Regions from separate parts of the Homo sapiens genome. Here all the other regions are linked to region 1. Evidence: promoter capture Hi-C in 16 types of primary human blood cells and fetal thymus (Javierre and others, 2016). All regions are on one chromosome and are shown on one strand. Each heading gives the region's core, a stretch centred on a gene start or on the middle of the fragment in contact. The rest is flanking DNA. Distances are from core to core; before and after follow the strand shown.

What was found. Contacts are between HindIII fragments. The CHiCAGO score rates a contact against its expected background, and 5 or more counts as called.
Region 2: a fragment that was not itself captured here is called in contact with the fragment with the promoter of SBSN in region 1 in 5 of 17 cell types (M2 macrophages, M0 macrophages, M1 macrophages and 2 more); the score reaches 8.9 in M2 macrophages.
Region 3: a contact is called between a fragment that was not itself captured here and the fragment with the promoter of SBSN in region 1, in 9 of 17 cell types (megakaryocytes, M1 macrophages, erythroblasts and 6 more). The highest score is 8.4, in megakaryocytes.

What each region holds. Positions count from the first base shown.
Region 1 is chr19:35,526,294-35,530,501 of GRCh38, forward strand. It overlaps SBSN (suprabasin), which reads right to left and starts at 2,018. Exons shown (of 4, transcript NM_001166034.2): 1 at 351-2,018. The coding sequence starts at 1,988. RefSeq lists enhancers at 722-1,223, 2,669-3,169. The HindIII fragment of the contact is 2,098 bases long and covers 1,645-3,742 here.
Region 2 is chr19:35,390,590-35,394,882 of GRCh38, forward strand. No RefSeq gene overlaps it. Among named protein-coding and RNA genes, the nearest start is that of LINC01531, 13 kb to the right of the region's middle. The HindIII fragment of the contact is 543 bases long and covers 1,494-2,036 here.
Region 3 is chr19:35,332,363-35,336,332 of GRCh38, forward strand. CD22 (CD22 molecule) reads left to right here. Exons shown (of 14, transcript NM_001771.4): 3 at 185-562; 4 at 3,674-3,970. Among named protein-coding and RNA genes, the nearest start is that of CD22, 5.2 kb to the left of the region's middle. RefSeq lists a silencer at 943-1,152. The HindIII fragment of the contact is 4,678 bases long and covers 313-3,970 here.

The DNA.
Region 1 (4,208 bases), core at 768-3,267:
CTAGATCTTGATCTCAGGAACTGTTTCCCATTCCCCAGGAAGGGCTTCATGGGCCCCACTTGAGGCCCCCTTAACCAGGAGGGCAGCTCCCTGAAGGTGGGACAGGGTGCCCGCCACCCTGTCTGATACGTGCTTTGCAGATAAGGTGGCTCACCCCATCTGACCAGCTGCCACCAGCTCCTTTGTAAGGGAGATGGGGAAGGGGGAGGAACCCAGTGATATAGCTGCCCAAGCTTCTTTCACCAAACAAAGGCTACGCGGACCCCCCCGCCCCGCCAAATGTCCCAGGGGTTTAACCTTTCCCTCCCCCAACCCCCCTGTCCCCCATCTCCCCATCCCTGTTCACCTACATTCAGCAGCTGGTTGGCCTCCTTGCTGGCTTGGTTGACCCCATTATGAGCATTCTGCAGCTCCTTCCCGGCCTGGCCAGCAGCATGGTGGGCACCTTGGCCAAGCTTCTCCACTTCCTTTCCAGCCTGGTCAGCAGCATGGTTGACCCCTTGGCCAAGTTTCTCTGCTTCCTTCCCAGCCTGGTGGACCCCAGTGTGGAACCCTTGGACCGCTTTGTCTGCTTCCTTCCCGGCCTGTTCAAGGGTATGGTGAACTCCCTGGCCAAACTGCCCTGCCTCCTTCCCGGCCTCGTGGACCCCAGGTTGGACACCATGAACTGCTATGTCTCCCTCTTTCCCAGCCTGCCCTGCTGTGTGGTGAATGTCGTGGCCAAACTGCCCCGCCTCCCTTCCAGCCTGACTAACGCCATGATGGAGGCCTTGGACCACTCTGTCTTCCTCCTTCCCCACCTGCGAGGCAGCATGGTGGACACCCTGGCCAAACTTCTCTGCTTCCTTCCAGGCCTCATTAACCCCATGGTGGACCCCATGGCCGAGCTTCTCTGTTTCCTTCCCAAACTGACTGGCAGCATGGTGGACCCCCTGGCCAAACTTCTCTGTCTCCTTCCAGCCCTCACTGAGACCATGGTGGACCCCCTGGCCAAACCTCCCAGCCTCATTTCCGGCCTGCCCCGCAGCATGGTGGGCCCCCTGGCCAAATCTCCCTGCCTCATTTCCGGCCTGCCCCGCAGCATGGTGGGCCCCCTGGCCAAACTTCTCTGCCTCCTTCCCAACCTGACCAGCAGTATGGTGGACCCCCTGGCCAAACTTCTCTGTCTCCTTCCAGCCCTCACTGAGACCATGGTGGACCCCCTGGCCAAATCTCCCTGCCTCATTTCCGGCCTGCCCCGCAGCATGGTGGGCCCCCTGGCCAAACTTCTCTGCCTCCTTCCCAACCTGACCGGCAGCATGGTGGATCCCCTGGCCAAACTTCTCTGTCTCCTTCCAGCCCTCACTGAGACCATGGTGGGCCCCCTGGCCAAATCTCCCAGCCTCATTTCCGGCCTGCCCTGCAGCATGGTGGACTCCCTGGCCAAACCTCCCAGCCTCATTTCCGGCCTGCCCTGCAGCATGGTGGACTCCCTGGCCAAACCTCCCAGCCTCATTTCCAGCCTGCCCTGCAGCATTGTCGACTCCCTGGCCAAACTTCCCTGCCTCACTTCCCGCCTGGTTGGCCCCGTGATGGACCCCATGATGGATCAGTTTGTCTGCCTCCTTCCCAACCTGTCCAGCAGCGTTGTTGACCCCATGGCCAAGCTTCTCTGCTTCCTTTCCTGCTTGTCCAATACCATGGTTGATCTCATGGGCAACCTTGTCCATGCCGTGGTTGAGCCCCTGGACGCCTTTGTCCAACTCCTTGCCGGTGTGGCTCCCCATGTTGCTAAGTCCGTTGAAAACCTTCTCCACTTCCCTTCCGGCATGCGTGATTCCACTGTTGATGCCATCCAGGGCCTTGCCCACCTCTCTCTCTGCATTGCTCAGCCCTCGGTTGATCCCTTCAATGACCTTCTCAATGGGGTCATCGCTGGCCGCCCATCCAGACAGGGCCCCCAGTAGCAGAAGGAGGGAGCAGGAGCCGACCAGACGTGCAAGATGCATATTGCTGGGAAGGTCGGGAAGGATGCAGAGAGGAGCCAGGGAAGCCACGCTGCTATTTATCCTCTCTCCCTCTCGCCCTCTTCTCCACCCCTCATGACTCAATTACCCCTGTGAGGCACTGAGTTGGTCTTCAGTCAAGGAGGTGTTTCCCAGGGAGATTTGGAGTTGAGCAATGGAGAGGAGGAGGAAGAGAGGGTGAGTCATGGATGGAGAAGAACTCTGGCATCTTTGCTCCTTGCCCTCCACCCCAGAGATGGGTGTCTGCCCTTCCAACCACCTCCTCTTTCATTCCTCACCCACTGTCCAGGCCTCCTCTCTCGCAAACCCACCTTCCACCATGCTCCATCCCTGGGATGCAGGCAATTCTTCAACACCTCACTCCTCTCAGGCATCTAAGCCTCCAGCTCCCCAGGCAGTGAGGGGCTAGAATGATGGGAGGCACCGTCTGGAGAGGGGAGAACACTAGGTGGGATGAAGGAGTCATCAGACCTCGTTCTTGTGGGCCAGCCCCTGCCCTCACTCATTCCATTCCAGCCACACAGGCCTTCTCCCTGTTCCACAAACACACCAAGCTCATTCCTGCTGCAGGGCCTTTGCACATGCTCCTCTCTCTGCCTGGAATGCAGAACCCAGATCTTCACGTGGCTGGCTCCTCCTCATCCGTACTTGACTTAAATGCCAACTTCGCAAGAAAACCTCTCCTGACCATAACATGGCATTAATTATACTCTGTAGTATCACCCTTTTGTTTTCACAGAAAAAAAAAATCTGAAATTACCTTTATTTTTTATTGCCTGTCTCACCTACTAGCAATGTAAATTGGTCGTGTTGATCACTGCTGTATTCCTAGCTTCTTGAACACTGCCTGGGGTTCAGTAAATATTTATTGACTGGACAAATGGATGGATTCGAACAGGCCAAGGAAAGAGACTCCGAGCCCGAGTCTGGGTCTCACAGGGTGCTGGAGGGAAGGGCGCCTGGGTCGCCAGGGCAGCATAGAGTCCCTTGTGGAGTGCCGCAGATTTTGGAGGCAGGATCCCATTCCTGTCGCAGAACCCAGACCTCCTGCCTCCCAGCCCTTGGGCAAGGGCAGGGGGCTGATTGCCACGAGCTGGAACAGGACGCAGTGTCTCCTGAAAAGCCGGTTGAGGCAGCCACGGGGAGGGGCCGAAGACCCAGGGCAGCAGGAGCCTGTGAGCCAGAACCTGGGCTGGGGCCAGGCCCTCATCCTTCCTGCCCTCCCGACATGGGGCCTCCTAAGCCCCAACCTGAAGCCCCAAGTGTTGACATATTGGCTCGGGTTGGAGGGGAAACAGCTGAGAGTCTGGCCTCAGGCATGAAAAGGGCATCGGAAGGAAGGGCAGGTGGTGGTGGGCAGGCTTGGGGCAGCAGATGCATCTAGAAGCCAGTTGGGAGGGAGGCTAAGACCAGAACGAGAGCCAGTGGGTGGGTACAGTAGGTGCAGGGGTGAAAGATATTTGGGTTTTGGTGCCAAGGGGAGAGACTGAGAGAGGGGTGGAGGTGGGATTGCTGGTGGGAAGGCCAGGCAGGAACAATGTGCAGGGTGTGAGCAGCTGGAGGTGGCAGAGCTATGTGTGTGGGTGCCCAGGTGTGGCGAGAATCTGCACGTGTTTTCAGGCTTTGCTCAAACAAAGGCGCCAAGGCCCACTCCCCTCAGAGGACCCGGGGTTCCTCTCCAGCTCCTGGACACTTGACTCCACCCAAAGACAGGCATCCCAGGACAGATATCCAGAAGCTTCTGCCTTCTCTGGGCTCTGCCTATAGAGGGTGACTAAGTGTGCCACCTCTCCAAGCTTGAGCTCATCAAATCTGTTTCCCGGTTTCACACTCCAGGGACAAAGCCAAATTCCTGGGCAAACTCAGGTGTGGTTTTTCTGCCCTGGTCCAGGGCCGAAATGATGGAGTTTCCCATACCAGGAGGTGGCTGGGCAGAGAAGAGTGGGTGATGAGTGTCAGAATCCTAACCCACCCAGAGATCAAGAGGTGGGATTTCTCCCACTTTGAACTGTGTTCCATCTTCTTTTTGTGTTTTTGGAGGGAGAGTCTCACTCTATCCCCCAGGCTGGCATGCAGTGGCATGATCTCGGCTCACTGCAACCTCCGCCTCCCGGGTTCAAGTGATTCTTCTGCCTCAGCCTCCCGAGTAGCTGGGATTAGCCGGGCACCTGCCATGATGCCCAGCTAATTTTTGTACTTTCA
Region 2 (4,293 bases), core at 515-3,014, 140 kb before region 1:
CAGGGCGTAGTGGCAGGCACCTGTAATTCCAGCTACTCGTGAGGCTGAGGCAGGAGAATTGCTTGAACCCAGGAGGCAGAGGTTGCAGTGAGCTGAGATCGCACCATTGCACTCCAGCCTGGGCAACAGAGTAAGACTGTCTCAACAACAACAACAAAAATCTGATGAGAATTTATGGTTTGTAGAGCATGACTTCTCTAGACCCCTTAGATAGGAATTTGGGCAAGATTTTAAAAATCAGAGCTTAGTTCTCACTAACAAGCCCCAAGAGTGTCCAAACTGAAACAGTCATGGTGCTTTCCTCCCTCCATCATTTGGGCTTATTCAACCTGCAAATGGAAATTCCTTAGAAAATTCCCAAATTGAGAGGAGCCCTTCCTGCTGTCTGGAACCCAGAAAAGACACTCATCCATCCAGACACAGATATCAAATTTCAAAGTCTGTTCTTCCTAGGCAATCAGCAATACATTTGGGGCTGGCAGCAGCAGAGCCAAAGAGAAAAAGATGGAAACCCACCTCCAGCCAAAAAAAGGTCAGACAGCTGTACAGGGGGCTTCTGAAAGTCCCAGTCTGCAGCAGCTGAGCCACAAGCAATGTGTTCCCAGGTAGGGAACCAAAATCTGTTACTGAAATGCCAGGGCTCCAGTCTAGGTCCCGTTGCTCACTGCACAGAAAGCCAATCACCAAGACAATGAGTACTGCCTGGGAAGAAGGCTTTAATTGAGTGCTTTAGCCAAGGAAAATGGGGATCAGTCTCAAATCCATCTCCCTAGTCAACTAAAATCAGGGGGTTATACAGCAGGGAAGAAATGTAACTACATGTGGGAAAACCAGAGTTAGGGAGAGGTAAGGAAGAGGAGTTGGTCAAAGGAATTAGGGAGGGATAAGGAAATCAGGAGGGATGAGGGGTCTGGCATCTCATTGTCTGGATGCAGTGATCTGGTGAGTTTCAATTCGTTGATTTCCTGTGGCAAGAACTCAGATAAGACAAATGCAGGCTTCAAACTTTAAGACCAGGAGGGGGCCAGGCACAGTGGCTCATGCCTGTAATCCCAGCACTTTGGGAGCCCGAGGTGGGTGGATCACGAGGTCAGGAGATCAAGGCCATCCTGGCTAACACAGTGAAACCCTGTCTCTACTAAAAATACAAAAAATTAGCCGGGTTTGGTGGCATGTGCCTGTAGTCCCAGCTACTCAGGAGACTGAGGCAGGAGAATTGCTTGAACCTGGGAAGCAGAGGTTGTAGTGAGCCAAGATCGCACCACTGCACTCCAGCCTGGGCAACAGAGAAAGACTCCATCTAAAAAAAAAAAAAAAAAAAAAAAAAGAAGGGTGAATTTCTACGTTGATCCAAAAGAAGCATCTATGGGACAATCAGGCCAGTTTCATGAGGAATATAAATTGGATCCTGTCATTGCCCTGAATAAAACTTTTCAATGGCTTTCCATTCTGGCCTCCTCCTCACAGCCTTTGAGGCCCTGCCTCTCTCTCCAAGCTTCTCTGGGGCCATCCCCAGAGAAGTGTCACTGACATCGCTCTTCTGGCCTGGACTTCTCTCTGTCCCTTGAGCAGGCCAAGCTCTGAATGTCTGCATGCACCATGCCTTCCACTCTTTACCTGGCTAGTTCCCCACTTCTTCCAAGTTTCTGTCCAATGTCACGCCTTAGAGAGGCTTTCCCTGATCATCCAATATCAAGTAGCCCCCTTCTGATATTATCTCACACTGCGCTCTCATGGTTTGATGTTTGTATGTGTGTGTTCATTTGTTTAACGTGACTCCTACTAGACTGAGAAGCCCATGACAGCAGTCACCACGTCAGTTTTCTTTGTCACTATATACCCAGTGGGTGCCTAAAACCGTGCCTAGCACAGACTGGGCATTTGATGGTGAATAAATGAATGAATGATTTTTTAAAAATATCTCTAATTTTCTACTATTATAAATAATGCTATGAGAACATCCTTTTACATAAAGGCACGTGCACTGTGCATTTCCTACAAGTCGTACTGTTGAATTAAATGATATGTACATGTAAAGCTTTGATAAATATCGATGAATTACCTTCCCCGGCTGAGTCAACCCTTTCTTCCCCAACAGTCTGTAAGAGACCCCATAACTCTGCTGACAAGAGAAAATATTGTATTTTAATTTTTTGAGATGATATTTAGAATTTAGAAACTTAAGTATTAGTCTGGGATTTCCAGAGAAACAGAACCAATAGAGTGTGTGTATGTGTGTCTGTGGGTGTGTCTGTGTGTCTGTGTCTCTGTGCATGTGTCTGTGTGTGTATGTGTGTCTCTGCGGTGTGTGTGTGTCTGTGTGTGTGTCTGTGTATGTATCTGTGTGTGTGTCTCTGTGCATGTCTGTGTGTGTCTCTGTGTGTGTGTACCTCTGTGTGTCTCTGTATGTTTTTGTATGTGTGTCTCTGTCTGTGTCTCTATGTGTGTCTCTGTGTGCATGTCTGTGTGTGTGTTTCTCTCTGTGTGTGTTTTTGTGTGTGTCTGTATATGTGTCTCCATGTGTGTGTCTGTATGTCTCTGTGTGCGTCTGTGTGCATGTATGTTTGTGGCTCTGTGTGTTAATGTGTGTCTCTGTGTATGTGTTTCTGTGTGCATGTTTGTATGTGTTTCTGTGTGTCTCTGTGTGTTTTTGTGGGTCTGTGTGTCTCTCTGTGTGTGTGTATATCTCTCTGTGTCTGTGTGTGTCTCTGTGTTTCTGTGTGCATGTCTGTGTGTGTGTCCATGTGTGTGTCTGTGTGTTACTGTGTGTCTCCGTGTGTGTGTCTGTGTGTTTCTGTGTGTGTGTTTGTGTGTGTGTGTGTGTGTGTCTGCATGTCTGCATGTGTGTATAAAGAGATTTATTTAAGGAATTGGCTCATGTGATTGTGAATGCTTGATGAGCCCAAAATCTGACGGAGGAAGCTGGCTGACTCGAGGCTCAGGAAGAAGTTGTGGTTGAGTCTAAAGAGAGCCTGCTGGTGAGCCAGGAAGACCCACTGCTGCAGACAAAGTCTGAATCCAGCATGCAGGAGAATTCTCTTTTGCATGTGGAGGTCAGCCTTTTGTGCTGTTCAGGCCTTCAGTGACTGGAGGAGTCCCCCACATTTTGGAGGGCAATCTGCTTTGCTCAGAGTCCACCAATGTAAATGTCAATCTCATCCAAAAACACCCTCACAGCAACACCCAGAATAACGTTTCACCAAATATCTGGGCACTGTGGCGTGGCCAAGCCAACACATAAAATTAACCGTCATACTCTGTATTATTTTCATATTAATCTCCCAGATTAAAAATGAGATAGACAATATTTACATATTGTGTAGAGTCATTTGTGTTTCTCCCAATACTTGCTTTGTTCTTATTTGACTTACAGGAGTTCTTTGAATATTGGCTTACAAACCTCATATCAGGTGTATAAGTAGAAGGATAGTGGCCTTTTACTTTGTTGATTGTAATGTTTTTCATAGGTTATCTCTTTTTATGTGCTCAAATTTCTCATCATTTTTTGATGACTTCTACATTATGTCATACTGGGAAAAAGCCTCCTTATTTATAAGACTTTTAAAATTACACAATACCTACACAACATTTATTATTTTTAAAAACATTTTTGATCTTGAATGCACCTGCCTTTTATTCTTGTTACCTGGCTGTAATTCTTCCCAGTGGATAGGCAGCTATCCCAACATAATTTACTGAATAGTCCATCCTTTCCTACAGTGGTTTGAAATGAACCTGGATCACTTAAGTAGGAAGAATCCTCTAAATGTAATCTAAAACAACAAGATTTCATCATTTTTACCCATCCTTACCCATAATGAGGAAAAACATTAAAGATTCAAACATCCAGTGTTGGAGAAGGTGCAGGGGAAGGGATTCTGCCATGTACAGCTGGTGGAAATGTAAATTACCAAACACTATCAGGAAGGTAATATGCAAATATCTATCAACAATTTCAAGGCATACCTCTTTGAACTAGCAATTACATAAATTATAGATCTAAAGATTCATCTAACCAAAATACTCACACCTGTTCAGATAGCTAGCTAGCTAGCTAGATAGAAAGATGATAGATAGATAGATAGATAGGTAATAGATAAATTTGCAGAGGCACTGTTTGTTATACCAAGAGAACTGTAAACTATGTAAATTAATCCTAAATGGTTACATAAATTATAAGACAGTCCTAAAATGAAATACCATGTAGCCATTAGAAAGACTCTAGATTGGTATAGGCTGCCATGAAAAGATCACTAAAGCATATTGTAAGGTGAAAAATAAAATTTCAAAAAA
Region 3 (3,970 bases), core at 1,402-3,901, 190 kb before region 1:
GCACTTTGTGAGGCTGAGGTGGGAGGATCACTTGAGGTCAGGAGTTCAAGGCCAGCTTGGACAACATAGCAAGACCCCTATCTCTAAAAAGAATAAAAAATTAAACAAATTTTAAAATAAAAAATAACTTTTAAAAGAAGGCTCTCATGCCCCCTTAGTAATGCTTTCTGATCACTGTGGTGAGTTCTAGAATACTTGGCTTTCTCTGACTCAAGTAAATGGGTTTTTGAGCACCCTGAAACCCTCTACGCCTGGGAGGGGGCCTGCGTCTGGATCCCCTGCACCTACAGAGCCCTAGATGGTGACCTGGAAAGCTTCATCCTGTTCCACAATCCTGAGTATAACAAGAACACCTCGAAGTTTGATGGGACAAGACTCTATGAAAGCACAAAGGATGGGAAGGTTCCTTCTGAGCAGAAAAGGGTGCAATTCCTGGGAGACAAGAATAAGAACTGCACACTGAGTATCCACCCGGTGCACCTCAATGACAGTGGTCAGCTGGGGCTGAGGATGGAGTCCAAGACTGAGAAATGGATGGAACGAATACACCTCAATGTCTCTGGTAAGGCCTTCGGGGAGCGGGTCCTCTGCTCTGGGCAGGGGTGAGTGGGAGGCAGGAAATACCTGACTCCTGGCACAGAGCTCACAAACCGAGCTTCCTGCAGAGCTCAGGCAGGGGACGCCAGCGGATGACGATGGCGATGCAGCAGCACTAGACAGAGCTGCGGGACCTCGGATGTCCCATCTGACCCTCAGTTCCTGCCCCTCTGGGACCTGGATTCCAAAGTTATCGGATCTCCTGATCTTTCCCTCTTTCTTTCTCACCATGTATTTTTCAGCTTTTGTGACAAACTCGTGTTTGGCCTTAGTACTGGAACCATCCAAGCACCGCATTCCTTTAGTGGGGTGGGTCTGCATGTAACCAGCCTCAGCTCTCCCCCAGGCTGGACCGCCCCCTTCAGACATTGGGGTCTGAAGCTGCATCGCTCACCCCAAACTTAGGGCTGCTCAGAGCTCCCTATAGAGGAAACTGGGTGTGGAACGGAGTAACCACACTCCCTAGGGCAGAGGCCCCAGACCTGTGTTTGATGGGTCAAATCCACCCCTACATGTGCAGTGCCATAACTGAGCCTGTGTTATAAAAATCATAAAATGTTTGTTTTACTTTTTTTCCTCTTCTTTTCCCCTTCCCCTTCCTTTCCCTTTTTATGAGACAGGGTCTCGCACTGTCATCACCCAGGCTGGAGTGCAGTGGCGCGATCTCAGCTCACTGCAGCCTTGATCTCCCGGGTTCAAGCAATCCTCCCACCTCCAAAGTAGCTAGGATCACAGGTGCATGCCACCATGCCCAGCTAACTTTTTAATTTGTTGTAGAAATGGGTCTTGCTATGTTGCCAGGCTGGTCTTGAACTCCTGGCCTCAAGCAATCCTCCTGCTTCAACCTCTCAAAGCATTAGGATTACAGGCATGAGTCACCGCACCCGGCCTGATCTTCTGATTTTTCAAGAGACGATGGAAATCTAGATTTTCCAGTGAAATCTCCCAGCATGTTAATGTTCATGGCAAGTTCTCATGAGCTCTTCAAGGTCAGATGACACTGTTGTTGAACCCCAAAGGCCAGGTTTGAGCTCCCGATGCGTAGTCAGCCAAACACTGACACCTCAGTGCTTAGAAGCTGAGATAGGATTATTTAATTTAGCCAAAGCAAGGGGACAGAAGAGAGAAACTCTCAAATCTGACCTGACTTTGAGCGTTAGTGGGGGCTTTTATGAGTAAAGTAGGTGTGCAGGAGGTGACCTCCCGATCGTCAAAGCTGTTGTGCCCCTCGGCTCATCAAATTTCTGGATGTCATCAAGGAGGTCTGTGTGACCTAAGGATCATTGTTCTTTGAAAGAGAGACAAGTTCATTTATCTTGCAGGCAGCTGCCAGGGAGTCAGGATGTAAGTTAAACAATTATGAGTGAATTAATGGTTACCTGCTACTGAAATGACCAAATGTAACTAATCATGCATGGAGGAAGGAAAGGACAAAGAGAAAAGAAAAGAAGTAAAACGAACATCTTATAATTTTTATAACATAGGTTCAGTTATAGCACTGCACATGTAGGGGTGGCTTTGACCCATCAAACACAGGTGTGGGGGGCCCCTGCCACAGGGAGTGTGGTCACTCCGTTCCACACCGTTTCCCGGATGGGCAGTTCTGAGCAGCCTTAAATTTGGGGTGAGCAATGCAACTTCAGACCCCGCTGTCTGAAGGAGGTGGTCCAGCCTTGGGGAGAGCTGAGGCTGGGTGCACACAGACCCACTCCACTAAAGGAATGCGGTGCGTGGATGGCTGCAATACTGAAGGAAGCCATGAAAGTAACACAAGTTTGTCAAAGCTGAAAAGTCCGTGAACTAAACTGATAAAATTCACTTAGAGGTGGTGGGAATAGGCCGGGCACGGTGGCTCACGCCTGTAATCCCAGAACTTTGGGAGGCCGAGGCAGGCGGATCACAAGGTCAGGAGATCGAGACCATCCTGACTAACACAGTGAAACCCTGTCTCTACTAAAAATGCAAAAAGTTAGCCAGGCGTGGTGGCAGGCGCCTGTAGTCCCAGCTACTCAGGAGGCTGAGGCAGGAGAATGGCGTGAACCCGGAAGGTGGAGCTTGCAGTGAGCTGAGATCACGCCACTACACTCCAGTCCGGGCGACAGAGCGAGACTCTGTCTCAAAAAAAAAAAAAAAAAAAAAAGAGGTGGTGAGGTGGTGGGAATAGAACTTTGCAATCATTCAGAAAGCAGACATCCGGCAATGAGCATGAAAGAAAAGTAGATCACAGTTCCCAAGGAGGCTTAGTGTGGTCAAGGCCTTTCAGAGGGGATTTCGGGTGAGCAAAAGTGATTCAAAGTGGAGAAAAGCAGGACTGCGTTGGGTGCAGTGGTTCCCGCCTGTAACCCCAGCACTTTGGGAGGCTGAGATCGGAGGATCGTTTGAGCCCAGGAGTTTGAGACCAGCCTGGGTAACATGGCAAGACCCTGTCTCTACAAAATGTTTAAAAAACTAGCTAGGTGTGGTGGCACATGCCTGTAGTCCCAGTTACTCAGGGGGCTGAGGTGAGAGGATTGCTTGAGCCTAGGAGGTTGAGGCTACAGTGAGCTAGGATTGCGCCACTGCACTCCAGCCTGGGTGACAAAGCAAGACCCTGTCTCTAAAGAAAAAAAGAGGCCGGGTGTGGTGGCTTACACCTGTAATCCCAGCACTTTGGGAGGCCAAGGCGGGAGGATCACTTGAGGTCAGGAGTTCAAGACCAGCCTGGCCAACATGGCGAAACCCTGTCTCTACTAGAAATACAGAAAAATTAGCTGGGTGTGGTGGTGGGCACCTGTAATCCCAGCTACTCGGGAGGCTGAGGCAGGAGGATCACTTGAACTGGGGAGGTAGAGGTTACAGCGAGCCAAGATCGCGCCACTGCACTCCAGCCTGGGTGACAGAGGGAAACTCCATCTCAAAAAAACAACAACACAACAACAACAACAATAACAACAAAAAAACAAAGCAGGACTGGAGAGAGGTGGAATGAAGTGGCAAGGGGTTCCTGAGGGGTGATTTGGGACAGGACATCTAAAGCCAGGTGTACGCTCACGTCCTCAGTCCCCCAGGCTCCTGCACGGGCTCTGTTCTTTTGCAGAAAGGCCTTTTCCACCTCATATCCAGCTCCCTCCAGAAATTCAAGAGTCCCAGGAAGTCACTCTGACCTGCTTGCTGAATTTCTCCTGCTATGGGTATCCGATCCAATTGCAGTGGCTCCTAGAGGGGGTTCCAATGAGGCAGGCTGCTGTCACCTCGACCTCCTTGACCATCAAGTCTGTCTTCACCCGGAGCGAGCTCAAGTTCTCCCCACAGTGGAGTCACCATGGGAAGATTGTGACCTGCCAGCTTCAGGATGCAGATGGGAAGTTCCTCTCCAATGACACGGTGCAGCTGA